Linked DNA regions of Homo sapiens: region 1 is linked to region 2. Evidence: promoter capture Hi-C in human tissues and cell types (Jung and others, 2019). All regions are on one chromosome and are shown on one strand. The core of a region is centred on a gene start or on the middle of the fragment in contact, and the rest is flanking DNA. Distances in the headings are between cores, read along the strand shown. Region 1 overlaps C1orf105 (chromosome 1 open reading frame 105). Region 2 holds the start of MYOC (myocilin).

The links. Contacts are between HindIII fragments. The study calls those that stand out against the background at their distance.
Region 1: a contact is called between a fragment that was not itself captured here and the fragment with the promoter of MYOC in region 2, in 1 of the 25 tissues and cell types used here (hippocampus).

The regions. Positions count from the first base shown.
Region 1 is chr1:172,453,905-172,460,910 of GRCh38, reverse strand. C1orf105 (chromosome 1 open reading frame 105) reads right to left here. Exons shown (of 7, transcript NM_139240.4): 4 at 4,422-4,496. Among named protein-coding and RNA genes, the nearest start is that of PIGC, 13 kb to the right of the region's middle. The HindIII fragment of the contact is 4,092 bases long and covers 14-4,105 here.
Region 2 is chr1:171,647,372-171,654,778 of GRCh38, reverse strand. MYOC (myocilin) reads left to right here and starts at 2,091. Exons shown (of 3, transcript NM_000261.2): 1 at 2,091-2,771. The coding sequence starts at 2,168. The HindIII fragment of the contact is 9,045 bases long and covers 1-4,781 here.

The sequences.
Region 1 (7,006 bases), core at 810-3,309, 810 kb before region 2:
TCAGAACAAAGCTGCCTGCCAAAGACAGGATTTTTGTTTTTGAGAAAAAGTGTACTGTGGGAGACTCCTATTCATTCTTGAAAACCCTGAATAGTCTTTTTCTTCAAGGAAGACTTCCTTGATATTTACTTTCACTGCCCCTTCACTCCCCATCAGATCTATTTCTGTTTATATTGATTACATTCTGTTGTCATTATTTATTTATTTGTTGACTCCTTAAAGACAGGTCTTATGTATTTCTTTTTTTTTCTTTGTAGTTTACCTAAGTACCTGGCCCATGGCAGACAATCAATCAATATTTGTTGAAATAAACTTAATTTATTTTGAAACTATTTTTTAATATATGTTAGAGAATATCTGTTTACAGTTGTCTAGCTTGATGGTCCTACTTTTAAGGGGCTTGAAGGTGTTAATTAGAGAGTAATGCAGATAACAGAAGGACTACAGAATAGGTGCATTAAGGGGAAGATGAGCTGTTTGGAGCAGAGACATGATGAAACACAGCCTAGATAAAACCAAGGCAAATATCACTGGTGATTCACAACCATAACTGTCAGCAGGTATTTCTTCTGCACTGAATGATTGAGCTTCTAGCCCAAGGTTACATAGGAATATGAGTAGTTACATAACCAGGTCCTATTTACATTTTTTTGAGATTCATCTATTTTGTGCTTTTATTTAGTGCTAATTTCTTTTTATCGGTGTTTATGATATCATGTATCATAAGTCACCATCTTAATGTGCAATTTAGTAGTTTTTAGTATATTCAGAAAGTTGTAAAACAACCACCATTGTTTATTCCTAGAACAGTTCATGACCCCAAAAAGAAACCACATACCTATTAGCAATTGCTTCTCACTCACTCCTCTCCCCAATCTTTGACAACCACTGTCTATTTTCTGTCTCTGAATTTTCCTATTTTGGACATTTCATATAAATGGAACCAGTATAATATGTGATCTTTTGCATCTGGTTTCTTTTACTTAGCAAAATGTTTTCAAGGTTCATCCATGTTATAGCATGTTTTAGTATTTCATTCTTTTTTATGATTAATATTCTATTATATAGATAGACAACGTTTTGTTTATCCATTAATCAAGCCCTAGGCATTTGGGTTATTTCCACTTTTCAGCTATTAAGATATGGCTGCTATGTGCATTCTTGTAGAATTTTGTGTGTGAATATGTTTTTAGTTCTCTTGGGTACATATCTAGGAATGGAATTGCTGGGTCATATGGTAACTCTGTGTCTAAGGTTTTGAGGAATTCCCAAACTGTTTTCCAAAGCAACTGTACTGTTTTACATTCCCATCAGCAATTTTTGAGGCTTCTAATTTCTCCACATCCTGGCCAACACTTGTTATTATCCACCGTTTTATTATTATTATTATTACAACCATCCTAGTGGATGGAAAGTGTGTCTCATTGTGGTTTTGATTTGCATTTGCTTTACAACAAATAATGTTGAGTATCTTTTCATGTGTTTATTGGTCATTTGTAGATCTTCTTTAGAGAATGTCTATTGAAACTTTTTGCTCACTTTTCAACTAGAGTGTTTGCCTTTTTATTGTTGAGTTTTAAGTGTTCCTTATATATTCCAGATACTAGTCCCTTATCTGACATAATCCTTCATCTGTTGATTTGCAAATATTTGGGTTGTCTTTTCGTGTTCTTGATGGTGTTCTTTGTGGAACAAAAGTTTAAAATTTTTATGAAGACTGATTTATCTATATCCTTTTGTTGTTTGTGCTTTGGGTGTCCTATCTTAGAAACCATTGCCTTATCCAAGGTCATGAAGCTTTATACCTATGTTTTCTTCTAAGAGTTTTATGGTTTTAGGTCTTACATTTAGCTCTTTGACCTATTTTGAGTTATTTTTGTACATGGTGTGAGGAAGAGGTACAAATTCATTCTTTTGCATGTATCTATGCAGCTGCCCCCGTACCACTTATTGAAAATACTATTCTTTCCTCATTGAACTGTCTTGGTGCCTTTGTCAAAAATCAATTGTTTATAAACATAAGAATTTACTTCTGAACTTTCAATTTTATTCCATTTATCTATTTGTCTATCTTTATGGCAGTACCACACAGTCCTGACCATAGCTTTGTAGTTAGTTTTAAAATCAAGAAGTATGAGACCTCCAACTTCGTTCTTCTTTTTAAAGATTGTTTGGCTATCCTGGATCTCTTGCATTTTAATATAAATTTTAAGATATGATTGCAAATTTCTATAAAAATGGCATCTGGGATTTTGAGGATTACATTAAATATGTAGATCAGTTTGGCGGAGTATATTCATCTTTACAATATTAAGTGTTCCAATCTATAAACATGGGGTTCTTTCCATTTATTTAGGCCTTTTAAATTTTCTTTCCACAATGTTTTATACTTTTCATTGTATAGCTCTTGTGCTTCTCGTGTTAAATTTATTCCTAAATAATTTTTGATGCTATTACAAATGGCATTGTTTTCTTCATTTTTGGGTTGTTCACTGCTATTAATAGAAATTAAGGTTTATATACTGATCTTGTATCCTCAACACTGCTGTACTCATTTATTAGCTCTAATAGTTTTCTGTGCATTCCTTAGGACTTTCGCTATATAAGAGCATATCATCTGCAAATAGACTAGTTGTACTTCTTTCTTTCTAATGTGGATGGATTTTATTTCTTTTTCTTATCTTTCTGGCTAGAATGTATAGTAAAATGTTGAGTAGAAGTGTCAGGAGCAGACATTGTTGCCCTGTTTCTAATCTTAGGGGAAAGTATCCAGTCTTTTACCATTAAGTAGGGTGTTAGCTGTTAGTTTTTCAAGCTGCTCTTTATTAGGTTGAGGAAGTTCCCTTCTATTCCTAGGAGTCTTTTTATATATTCCCCAGTATTTCTATTCAACTCACTGCTGAGAAAGAAGGGGTATCACAGTGACTACAGCAGACCTGCAGTCCCTCCCCTTGGGAGGACTTTGAGGTATTACTGCATAGAGTGAGGCAAGGATATTTCATGTTTATTTTCTAACTTTCTGTAGTTTATCACCAGGTTCTGACAGCAGTACAGAAGGGTCCCTGGGCACTTTTGTGTTTGAAGCCCTTCCTTTTAGAAGCTTCAATAAATGGTAAAATTGCAGCATGTGGCTCCACTTCTATCATTCCTGGACAAGGGCAAAGGTCAGAGAAGAGGTCTTGAGAAAGAGGATGGCTGCTGATGTCCCAAGTGTGCCAGCTGGCCAAGGCCAGCTTAGGCCTGGGGTTGGTGCATTCTAAATGTGGACACAAGGGATTCCAGGAATAAGACCAGGAGAAATCCCAATCCTAGTTTCCCAGACTCCAGCCAATGCTAATATTTAACACAGTGACCCTAATTATGTAGAAAATGAACATAGATGGCAACATCAAGGTGCAGCTTTGCCGGTAGCTTCAGTTAAATTTGTAAATCCCACATAAAAATTTCACAAAAGTGCCACTCTCTTTCACATCCGACTGGACCTAAGACTTGCCATGAACTCAGTGAAGGAGCTTTTCTTATATCTTCTATTTTTCTTCCATTCTTTTAAAGCACGTTTAGCCTACACATTTAGCCCCACCTTCCTCCCCAAGTCAAAGGAGAATTATAGGATATCAGAGTTGAAGAAACCCTTCTCCAGCTCGTACCTCAAACCTAACCATGTTGCTAAATTAACCCTTAACCAAAGCCTCTTCCTTACCCTGACGCTAACAACCATCCCAGCGCTAACTCTAATTCTTAAATTACCGAAGGCCTAACTCCAGCCTAGTCTAGCATCCTTCCTGAATCAGGCCTCTGATTCAGCAACTGTGATAGATGGCATGGCAGAAGTTTGTCTTTGTTCCCTCCACATCTCCCTTGCTTTCCTTCTTTCTTTTCCTAATATTCCTCCCCTACCACCATTCTCCACTATATGTTACAAATACCCAAAGCAGGTGACACCGCCCCTGACTACCTAGAAAGTACTGTAGACTCTCTCCCCAGTCTTTCTCTTGAGGTGCTACCTAAATTAACAGTAAACCCAAAGATGAAGCTGTTTGTCTCCTGATTGTAACGGTGGAGAAATGAGTGTGAGCCTATGTGTTGTGTGGGGGCTACATTAAGGAGGGAGAAGGAGCTCCATAATCCCCTAAGCCTCTGAGAGGCTGTAGTTACTTAGGAGCCCAAGGCGAAGTGTCTCATTGCATCTCTACTCTGGCCCATCTATCCTGGTTACCCTTTAGCTTGTTGAAACGGAGAAGGTTTATCATGTTCTGTCAGTCGATGCTGCTCCCAGGACCAACAGTTCCTCCTTGGCAGCCTTTATCTAGGCCCTCCTTGCAACGGGCCCCGTCACTATCTCTCCCCACAGGGCTTGGCTGGGAAGGGCAGTGCTGCACCCTGAGATGCCTGTGCCCATTTCTGTCTTCCCCCTTGCCTACCATTTTCATTTCTTGACATGTGGAGCACAGCTGTTGGTTTCTGAGCAGCATGGAGTCACACTGGTTCCTCCTGGCCTGAGGGGAAAGAGAGACAGAGAGAGGTGAGGAAATGGTGGGGCATGTAGGGCAGCAAAGATGTAGGAAAGCAGTGGAGGGGTGAGAGAGGTAACAGTTTTTCCTTCCGTAAAACAGAGATGGGCACTCTGGTCTCAGCCCCATCCAGGGTGGGTGTTGAATCTGGAGTGTGCTGCAGCTGGTAGGTACCGAGAGTTTAGGCAGGAGGGAGTGAGACATAGGCTAGGTGGTGGTCTTGAGGCTGCTGCATGCAGTGGTATACATGTAAAGACAGCTGGCAGAGATGGCTGGGGCCTGAAATTCAGTGGGGTCTCTACTTTCCAGCCTGAGCACCTGTGTCTGAGGGGTTGCATTCTCCTATAGGTGGGCCATTTTTTCCATTTCATAAAAAGGCTCCACCATATAGACTGAGGATCTCTGATGGCCTAAGAAAGAATGAAGAGAAGACTTCTCTTCTGCAAATCTTTTTTTCACGGGCCTTTCCTAAGCATCGCCTTCCTTTCTCATGCCTTAACTCTGGGCCAGAAACAGCTCTCATGCATCCATGGTCCAGCACCATTTGGCCCTTCTGTACCTCCTAAGCAGAATGATTGAAGCCACAAGCAGAACTCAAGCTTGTGTGTGAGTCCTGAGTCCCCTCAATCCTCTGGGAAAGAGAGGCTGTCTCAGTAGGTGAAGAAGCAATCAGTGGAGGAAGGGGAGGGGCACCGTGTCTGCTCACTGTAACCACTGGTTTTTATTCTGACTTCATTTCTGCAAAAGCATTAAAGAGAGGACTTTGGAGCATTTACACCTGGGTTCAGGAGGTTCTCATTTGCATCTCTGATAAAAGTTTGCTTAGGAAGCATATAGGAACTTGAGGCTAAACTTATGTTTGGGATTCTCTCTTAACCTTCCTCATTCACATTGACATCAGTCATGAGATATGGTCACAGAAAGTGCAGAATATGGGGAAGAGGAAAGCCACAGTGAGAAGACTATTGACTGAAGTCTTCTCTTTCCTTTGATCCGCTTGCTGGCCCATCACTACATGGTGTGCCTTGACCCATTCCTGTTGCCCTGGGAAGTGTGGGGAACAGAAAGAGGAGGAACAGAAAGTGAGGAGTTCCTGAGGTGTGCTCCTAGGATGACCTTTGCCAGATTGTTCTGCAAGTAGCTTCATCCTGTGAGAGACATATGGCACTTAGGTGATGCATCATGGGGGGTTTGAGGGCTAAAAACTGTTAACAAAGTTGGATTCTTTTGAGAAACATTTAAAATACACTTCATTTTTATAGGGCATTCTAAAAAGAATCAACTCAGTATTACAATGTTGTGGGTTGGTATGTCAAAGTATGTGTGTGAATAACTAGATTCATTCATTCAACAGTAAACATCTATTGTGAGGCTACCAAGTAAAGGGTGCTGTGACGGGGGTCATACCGACGAATAAAGCAAAGTTTCTGGAAGGAAGTTTCTAAGGAAGACAAAAGAAGAATACAAATTCATTCATTTACCCATTCATTAGGTACTGGAGACATTTAAATAAATAAGACATAGTTTGTGACCTCAAGCTGCTCACCATCCAGTAGCCTATACATCAAGAAGTATGATGGTGTTGAAGGTGCTACAACAGAAATATATCGAGGCTCCAGTGAAGCTGAAAGGGGTCATTGAGCTTAACTGGGGGTGGGGCAGAGAGGGAAGGGTCTGAGAAGGGTAAAAAAAAACAGGCAATGCTTGGGTAGGTGTTTGTGGAGTGAACAAGGATGGTGAGGGTGTTGCAAGCCCAGGAAACACTATACAACAACCTGGAAGAATAATCTAGCAAATCAGCTTCGGGTAAGTGAATGTAGGTTGGGATGGACAGGTTGTCTGGTGGGAGGTTGAATGGAGTGAGAAGAGAGACTAGAGAGGAAATGTCTGTGGATATTGACTCCTCTGCTTTGGGCTGATTCAACTTTCTACCATGTCTTCCTGATACCCCTGGGGGTGATATCCCCTGAAGCTCCAGCTCCTCCCTCCATCCCTCACATCTTTGAGGTATGAGAGTGAGGTACATTTCTGAAACTGCAATTAAGGTAGGACACACTAGATATCATACAAGAGGCACTAATACCTCTGTGCCTTCAGAAAACAGAGAGACCACTTCTGATTGGAGAAATCAGGAAAGGCTTCCTAGAAGTGGAATTTGTACTCAGTCTGAAGGGATGAGGAAGACCTGGACAAGGGGAGGCAGATATGGAAGAATTCTTGGGCAGGTTTGTTTTTAGTAGAGATATAAGTTCTTCACTGAAATTATTTCCTTCACCTTTTTCCAGACTTCTGGTTTCTGCTAAGACTACTATTAGACCCTATAGGAAGTGGAATCTCAGAGCTCATTGCAAATCAAGCAACAGATATTATTTGCAAGATCCCCAAAGTGCATTGCAAGATCTTGCTAGGTTAATGACAACTGTAAATGTGAGTACAGAGTCCCATAACATAATGACTGTCATCTCTTAGAATCTGAGGGATGAAATGCTTATATA
Region 2 (7,407 bases), core at 842-3,341:
TCACGTCAGACTCCAGGACCGAGAGCCACAATGCTTCAGGAAAGCTCAATGAACCCAACAGCCACATTTTCCTTCCCTAAGCATAGACAATGGCATTTGCCAATAACCAAAAAGAATGCAGAGACTAACTGGTGGTAGCTTTTGCCTGGCATTCAAAAACTGGGCCAGAGCAAGTGGAAAATGCCAGAGATTGTTAAACTTTTCACCCTGACCAGCACCCCACGCAGCTCAGCAGTGACTGCTGACAGCACGGAGTGACCTGCAGCGCAGGGGAGGAGAAGAAAAAGAGAGGGATAGTGTATGAGCAAGAAAGACAGATTCATTCAAGGGCAGTGGGAATTGACCACAGGGATTATAGTCCACGTGATCCTGGGTTCTAGGAGGCAGGGCTATATTGTGGGGGGAAAAAATCAGTTCAAGGGAAGTCGGGAGACCTGATTTCTAATACTATATTTTTCCTTTACAAGCTGAGTAATTCTGAGCAAGTCACAAGGTAGTAACTGAGGCTGTAAGATTACTTAGTTTCTCCTTATTAGGAACTCTTTTTCTCTGTGGAGTTAGCAGCACAAGGGCAATCCCGTTTCTTTTAACAGGAAGAAAACATTCCTAAGAGTAAAGCCAAACAGATTCAAGCCTAGGTCTTGCTGACTATATGATTGGTTTTTTGAAAAATCATTTCAGCGATGTTTACTATCTGATTCAGAAAATGAGACTAGTACCCTTTGGTCAGCTGTAAACAAACACCCATTTGTAAATGTCTCAAGTTCAGGCTTAACTGCAGAACCAATCAAATAAGAATAGAATCTTTAGAGCAAACTGTGTTTCTCCACTCTGGAGGTGAGTCTGCCAGGGCAGTTTGGAAATATTTACTTCACAAGTATTGACACTGTTGTTGGTATTAACAACATAAAGTTGCTCAAAGGCAATCATTATTTCAAGTGGCTTAAAGTTACTTCTGACAGTTTTGGTATATTTATTGGCTATTGCCATTTGCTTTTTGTTTTTTCTCTTTGGGTTTATTAATGTAAAGCAGGGATTATTAACCTACAGTCCAGAAAGCCTGTGAATTTGAATGAGGAAAAAATTACATTTTTGTTTTTACCACCTTCTAACTAAATTTAACATTTTATTCCATTGCGAATAGAGCCATAAACTCAAAGTGGTAATAACAGTACCTGTGATTTTGTCATTACCAATAGAAATCACAGACATTTTATACTATATTACAGTTGTTGCAGATACGTTGTAAGTGAAATATTTATACTCAAAACTACTTTGAAATTAGACCTCCTGCTGGATCTTGTTTTTAACATATTAATAAAACATGTTTAAAATTTTGATATTTTGATAATCATATTTCATTATCATTTGTTTCCTTTGTAATCTATATTTTATATATTTGAAAACATCTTTCTGAGAAGAGTTCCCCAGATTTCACCAATGAGGTTCTTGGCATGCACACACACAGAGTAAGAACTGATTTAGAGGCTAACATTGACATTGGTGCCTGAGATGCAAGACTGAAATTAGAAAGTTCTCCCAAAGATACACAGTTGTTTTAAAGCTAGGGGTGAGGGGGGAAATCTGCCGCTTCTATAGGAATGCTCTCCCTGGAGCCTGGTAGGGTGCTGTCCTTGTGTTCTGGCTGGCTGTTATTTTTCTCTGTCCCTGCTACGTCTTAAAGGACTTGTTTGGATCTCCAGTTCCTAGCATAGTGCCTGGCACAGTGCAGGTTCTCAATGAGTTTGCAGAGTGAATGGAAATATAAACTAGAAATATATCCTTGTTGAAATCAGCACACCAGTAGTCCTGGTGTAAGTGTGTGTACGTGTGTGTGTGTGTGTGTGTGTGTGTAAAACCAGGTGGAGATATAGGAACTATTATTGGGGTATGGGTGCATAAATTGGGATGTTCTTTTTAAAAAGAAACTCCAAACAGACTTCTGGAAGGTTATTTTCTAAGAATCTTGCTGGCAGCGTGAAGGCAACCCCCCTGTGCACAGCCCCACCCAGCCTCACGTGGCCACCTCTGTCTTCCCCCATGAAGGGCTGGCTCCCCAGTATATATAAACCTCTCTGGAGCTCGGGCATGAGCCAGCAAGGCCACCCATCCAGGCACCTCTCAGCACAGCAGAGCTTTCCAGAGGAAGCCTCACCAAGCCTCTGCAATGAGGTTCTTCTGTGCACGTTGCTGCAGCTTTGGGCCTGAGATGCCAGCTGTCCAGCTGCTGCTTCTGGCCTGCCTGGTGTGGGATGTGGGGGCCAGGACAGCTCAGCTCAGGAAGGCCAATGACCAGAGTGGCCGATGCCAGTATACCTTCAGTGTGGCCAGTCCCAATGAATCCAGCTGCCCAGAGCAGAGCCAGGCCATGTCAGTCATCCATAACTTACAGAGAGACAGCAGCACCCAACGCTTAGACCTGGAGGCCACCAAAGCTCGACTCAGCTCCCTGGAGAGCCTCCTCCACCAATTGACCTTGGACCAGGCTGCCAGGCCCCAGGAGACCCAGGAGGGGCTGCAGAGGGAGCTGGGCACCCTGAGGCGGGAGCGGGACCAGCTGGAAACCCAAACCAGAGAGTTGGAGACTGCCTACAGCAACCTCCTCCGAGACAAGTCAGTTCTGGAGGAAGAGAAGAAGCGACTAAGGCAAGAAAATGAGAATCTGGCCAGGAGGTTGGAAAGCAGCAGCCAGGAGGTAGCAAGGCTGAGAAGGGGCCAGTGTCCCCAGACCCGAGACACTGCTCGGGCTGTGCCACCAGGCTCCAGAGAAGGTAAGAATGCAGAGTGGGGGGACTCTGAGTTCAGCAGGTGATATGGCTCGTAGTGACCTGCTACAGGCGCTCCAGGCCTCCCTGCCTGCCCTTTCTCCTAGAGACTGCACAGCTAGCACAAGACAGATGAATTAAGGAAAGCACAGCGATCACCTTCAAGTATTACTAGTAATTTAGCTCCTGAGAGCTTCATTTAGATTAGTGGTTCAGAGTTCTTGTGCCCCTCCATGTCAGTTTTCACAGTCCATAGCAAAAGGAGAAATAAAAGGACCGGGTGAGATGTGTCTGCATATGAGCAGTAGAAAGTTGTCAATTGTCCCTTTTGAAAAACTATCCTTTTTTGAACCTTTGCTCAGATTGTTATTTGTACCTTTTGATGTTAAAATGACCTTTATTTATGAAATTACAATAGATTTGGGAAATGATAATAAGTGGTAAGTTTTTGTTTATTTTTAAATGTTCTTCCCTGGCAAAATAAAGAGATGGCACCTCTCTGTCAGTTTTCTTAATATGTTGTTCTGAAAGTTTTCTTACTCAGTCCAATCTGAGAACCTCTGCTTTTAAGTCATCAGACAAATTCTTGAGATGGCTTTTTCTGAGAGGCTCTTCTGTTCATCCTGGTCCCTTCTTGCCTAAAGGTGAGTCTGTGTGTGTGTGGGGGGGGTGCGGGGGTGAGGTGTTGGGGGAGGTCTTCTTATTAGCTGGGAAGATGGTATTTGTGTCACTTTTTGTGAAAGTGGGCTCCCAAATATTCCCTGTTGAGGAAGTGTTCTAATCATGAGGAAATAAGCAAGCAAATCCAGTTGTTGGACAATTAGTTTGGACTGGTCAAAGATGTCAGTGCCAAGGAAGAAAGAAAAAAGGGGTGGGGAAGGGCTTGTTCTATATTAAAGAGACTAAAGAAATGTGTTAACCAAATGTAGTGCATGAGTCTTGATTGGTGTCTTCATCCAAGGGGGAAAAAGGCTATGAGGAACAGGTTTGGGATAACTGAGGCAATTTGACTGCTCATTATTATGTTACTGTATTAATGTTCAGTTTCTTGGTGAGATAATGATACTGTGGTTGCGAAGGATAAAATCTTTGTTCTATGGAGATACATGCTTAAGTACCCAGGGTGAGGCGTCAGGATGTCTGCAATTTGCTCTCAAATGGTTGAAGAAAGACTGCAAATATATAGATAATGAGAGAAAGAAAGGTAAAACAACTGTGGCAAAATATTAATAACTGGTGAATTACAAACTGGTGAATCTAAGTATATGGGGAGCTTATTGTACTATTCTTTCAGTTTTTCTATAGGCTTGAAAAGCTTTAAAATTATGAGAAAATATTTCCTAAAAAGAGCCTTCTACGTGAAAGGCAAGCTCTTCATAGCTATGGGGTTAGAAAACCTAAGAGCCAGAGCCTGGGGATGACCTTGGGCAAGTTATTGAACCCTCTGCATCTTCATTTCTTGTCCATAACATAACAAAGAAAATTCCTGCTGTGAATAATTTTTGTGGGGTTCACATGAAATACCTATAAGATGTAAAGGATTTTTAAAAAATGTTTAGATTGTTAGAATTAGAAGAGATCCAATTCTGAATTTTACAACCAAGGAAAGTGAAGTCCTAAGATGCTAAGGGGCCAAGGTTGCCCAGCTGGTCAGTGGTAGAGCTTGAGACTTGAATCTGTGGAGACAATTGAAAGAATCATCATTACCAGAAGTGTGATGAGGCATTACTTATTTCAGACTGTTGAATGAAGTTACATTCTCAATAAAAACTCCTGCATGTGTGTATGTGGGTGTGGGTGGTGTGTGTGTGTGTGTACAAAAATAGTGGCAATGTTTTGCCTTTTTTTTTCTTTTGTGGTCATTTAACAAGTCTTTGGGGATTTATTAGATGTGTTTCCTAATTTTATATTTTTTCTTGATCTTTCCAGCTACTCCACTTTTGAAATAAGGGCAACATCCCATTATATTGAACACCAAACATGGAAGTTCTTTTCTAGTAGTAGATGTTTTTCATGAGCAGGAAATTACATTAGTACAAGAATGTGGAACTGGAAAGGGACCTAATGAGCATCCGGTACCGCTGGCTGATTTTTGCAGATATGGAAACTGAGGCCCAGAGAGGTTATTCAGCTTGTCCATGGCCATCTACCAGTTAGTGGCAAAGCTCGAATTCTGGCCTCTTCCTCTGAAGTTCAGTGACTTTCTTTCTTTTTTTTTGAGACAGAGTTTCACTCTTGTTGCCCAGGCTAGAGTGTAATGGCACGATCTTGGCTCACTGAAACCTCTGCCTCCCGGGTTCAAGCAATTCTCCTACCTCAGCCTCCTGAGTAGCTGGGATTATAGGCATGTGCCACCATGCCCGGCTAATTTTGTATTTTTAGTAGAGACAGGGTTTCACCATGTTGGTCAGGCTAGTCTCGAACTCCTGACCTCAGGTGATCTGCCGACCTCGGCCTTCCAAAGCACTGGGATTACAGGTGTGAGCCCTCCCTGTACATGGCCATGAGGTTCATTGACTTTCAAGACCTTCAGCTGACCTCTGGTTTATAGACCCTAAAGGTAAAAGACAGAAAGGTACAGGAATGCTTGGAACAAAAGATCTGTTTCAAGGCCAGATCTAGGGAAAAGGGGGCATTCTGGAGGCTGGAATATAAGTCTAGGTATGCTTTTTTGCAGGAGTGGCAAGAACTAGGTGTGAAGGTTTGGGTAGAGAAGCTTAGTGAGGCTGAGTGGACAAAGGTAAGGCCTGAGAAGGCAGCCTTTCTGTATTCCACCTGCAACTCAAATTGTTACCACCACTTTCTTGATCATGTATTAATAGTTGTTATGTAGAAAAAAATTCCTTATAATCATAGAAATCACTTGTTTATACATACACATAATATGACATATTTTACTACATAACTATTACTACAAAGTTATATATAACTTTTTCTTCTCTGGGCTTATATAAATTTTCATATATATACATATATAAATTTTATGTATATATAATAGTTTTTGAAAAGTAGAAAAAAAATACAATTAGCCAAGTGTGGTGGCTCACACCTGTAACCTTAGCACTTTGGGAGGCCGAGGTGGACAGATCACTTGAGGTCAGGAGTTTAAGACCAGCCTGGCCACTGTGGTGAAAACTTGTCTCTACTAAAAATACAAAAATTAGCCGGGTGTGGTGGCGGGCACCTGTAATCCAGTTACTCCAGAGGCTGAGGCAGGAGAATCGCTTGAACCTGGGAGGCAGACGTTGCAGTGAGCCAAGATCACGCTACTGCACTCCAGCCTGGGTGACAGAGCGAGACTCCATCTCAAAAAAATATATATATTACATATAATACATATAAATATATATAATTATATATATAAATTTATTATATATATAATAAAATACATATATAATTTACTAGAAGATAAATTAGAGTTGGTTATTACTGTCACAAGAGAAGGACTGCTTTGTTTGTTATTTAGCCCCTGCTTTGGACTGGTCTCCTGTTGAACAGAGCCTGGAAGAGGGCTTGTGTGCAGTTGGTTTATATGGACCATGATCCTAGAGAAGAGAAGTTGAGACAGGGGAAAGTGAGACAGGGAAGGCAGGAAAGCCACAAAATGGGGGCCTTCTCCAGCTAGTCACCACAGTGGGCAATGGAGGCTCAATCCCATCAAGCCCTTCAGAGGGGCTGTGTAGACTGCAACAGAAGAGGGGAGGTTTACGCATGGATCTGATACCCTCTTGGCCAAGGGCTATCCCATGGAGTATATTGCGCTTCCCTGATACTCAGATGTGGGGACGAGGTTTGTTCTTGCAGACTGATTTTTTTTTTTTTTTTAAGATGGAGTCTTTCTCTGTCCCCCAGGCTGGAGTGCGGTGGCACGATCTTGGCTCACTGCAACCTCCGCCTCCTGGGTTCAAGCAATTCTCCTGCCTCAGCCTCCCGAGTAGCTGGGATTACAGGTGCACACTACCACGCCCAGCTAACTTTTGTATTTTTTTTTTTTTCCAGTACAGACAGGGTTTCACCATGTTGGCCAGGCTGGTCTTGAACTCCTGACCTCAAGTATCCACCCATCTTGACCTCCCAAAGTGCTGGGATTACAGGCATGAGCCACGGCGCCTGGCCTGTTCTTGTAGACTTTCTATGCAGAAAGTCAGAGAAGCTGGGCCACGGTGGCTGAGGCGAGGTCCCCGCAGGTGATAACTGCAAGAGGCAGGTTGCCTCAGCAATGACTGCAAAAAAGTGGGCAGGATGTGAGGGGAGGGTGAGGGGAGAAACCTGAGGTGTTCAACACAAGTGCTGCAGATTCCCTTTCCTCACCTAGAATAGGATGGGGATGAGAATCCCTCATGGGAGTCATCATGCAAATTAGCAGTCACACAGGGAAGCACCCAGTGCAGCGCTGAGCAGTGGCCACCCAGTGAATAAAATATAACTAGAAAGGCTTATTTTACTTGAGTTCCACTATTGTTTTTGTTTTTTGTTTTGTTTTGTTTTTTGAAGATGGAGTCTCGCTCTATCACCAGGCTGGAGTGCAGTGGCGTGGTCTTGGCTCACTGCAACCTCCACCTCCTGGATTCAAGCAATTCTCCTGCCTCAGCCTCCCAAGTAGCTGGGATTACAGGCACACGCCACCATGCCCGGCTAATTT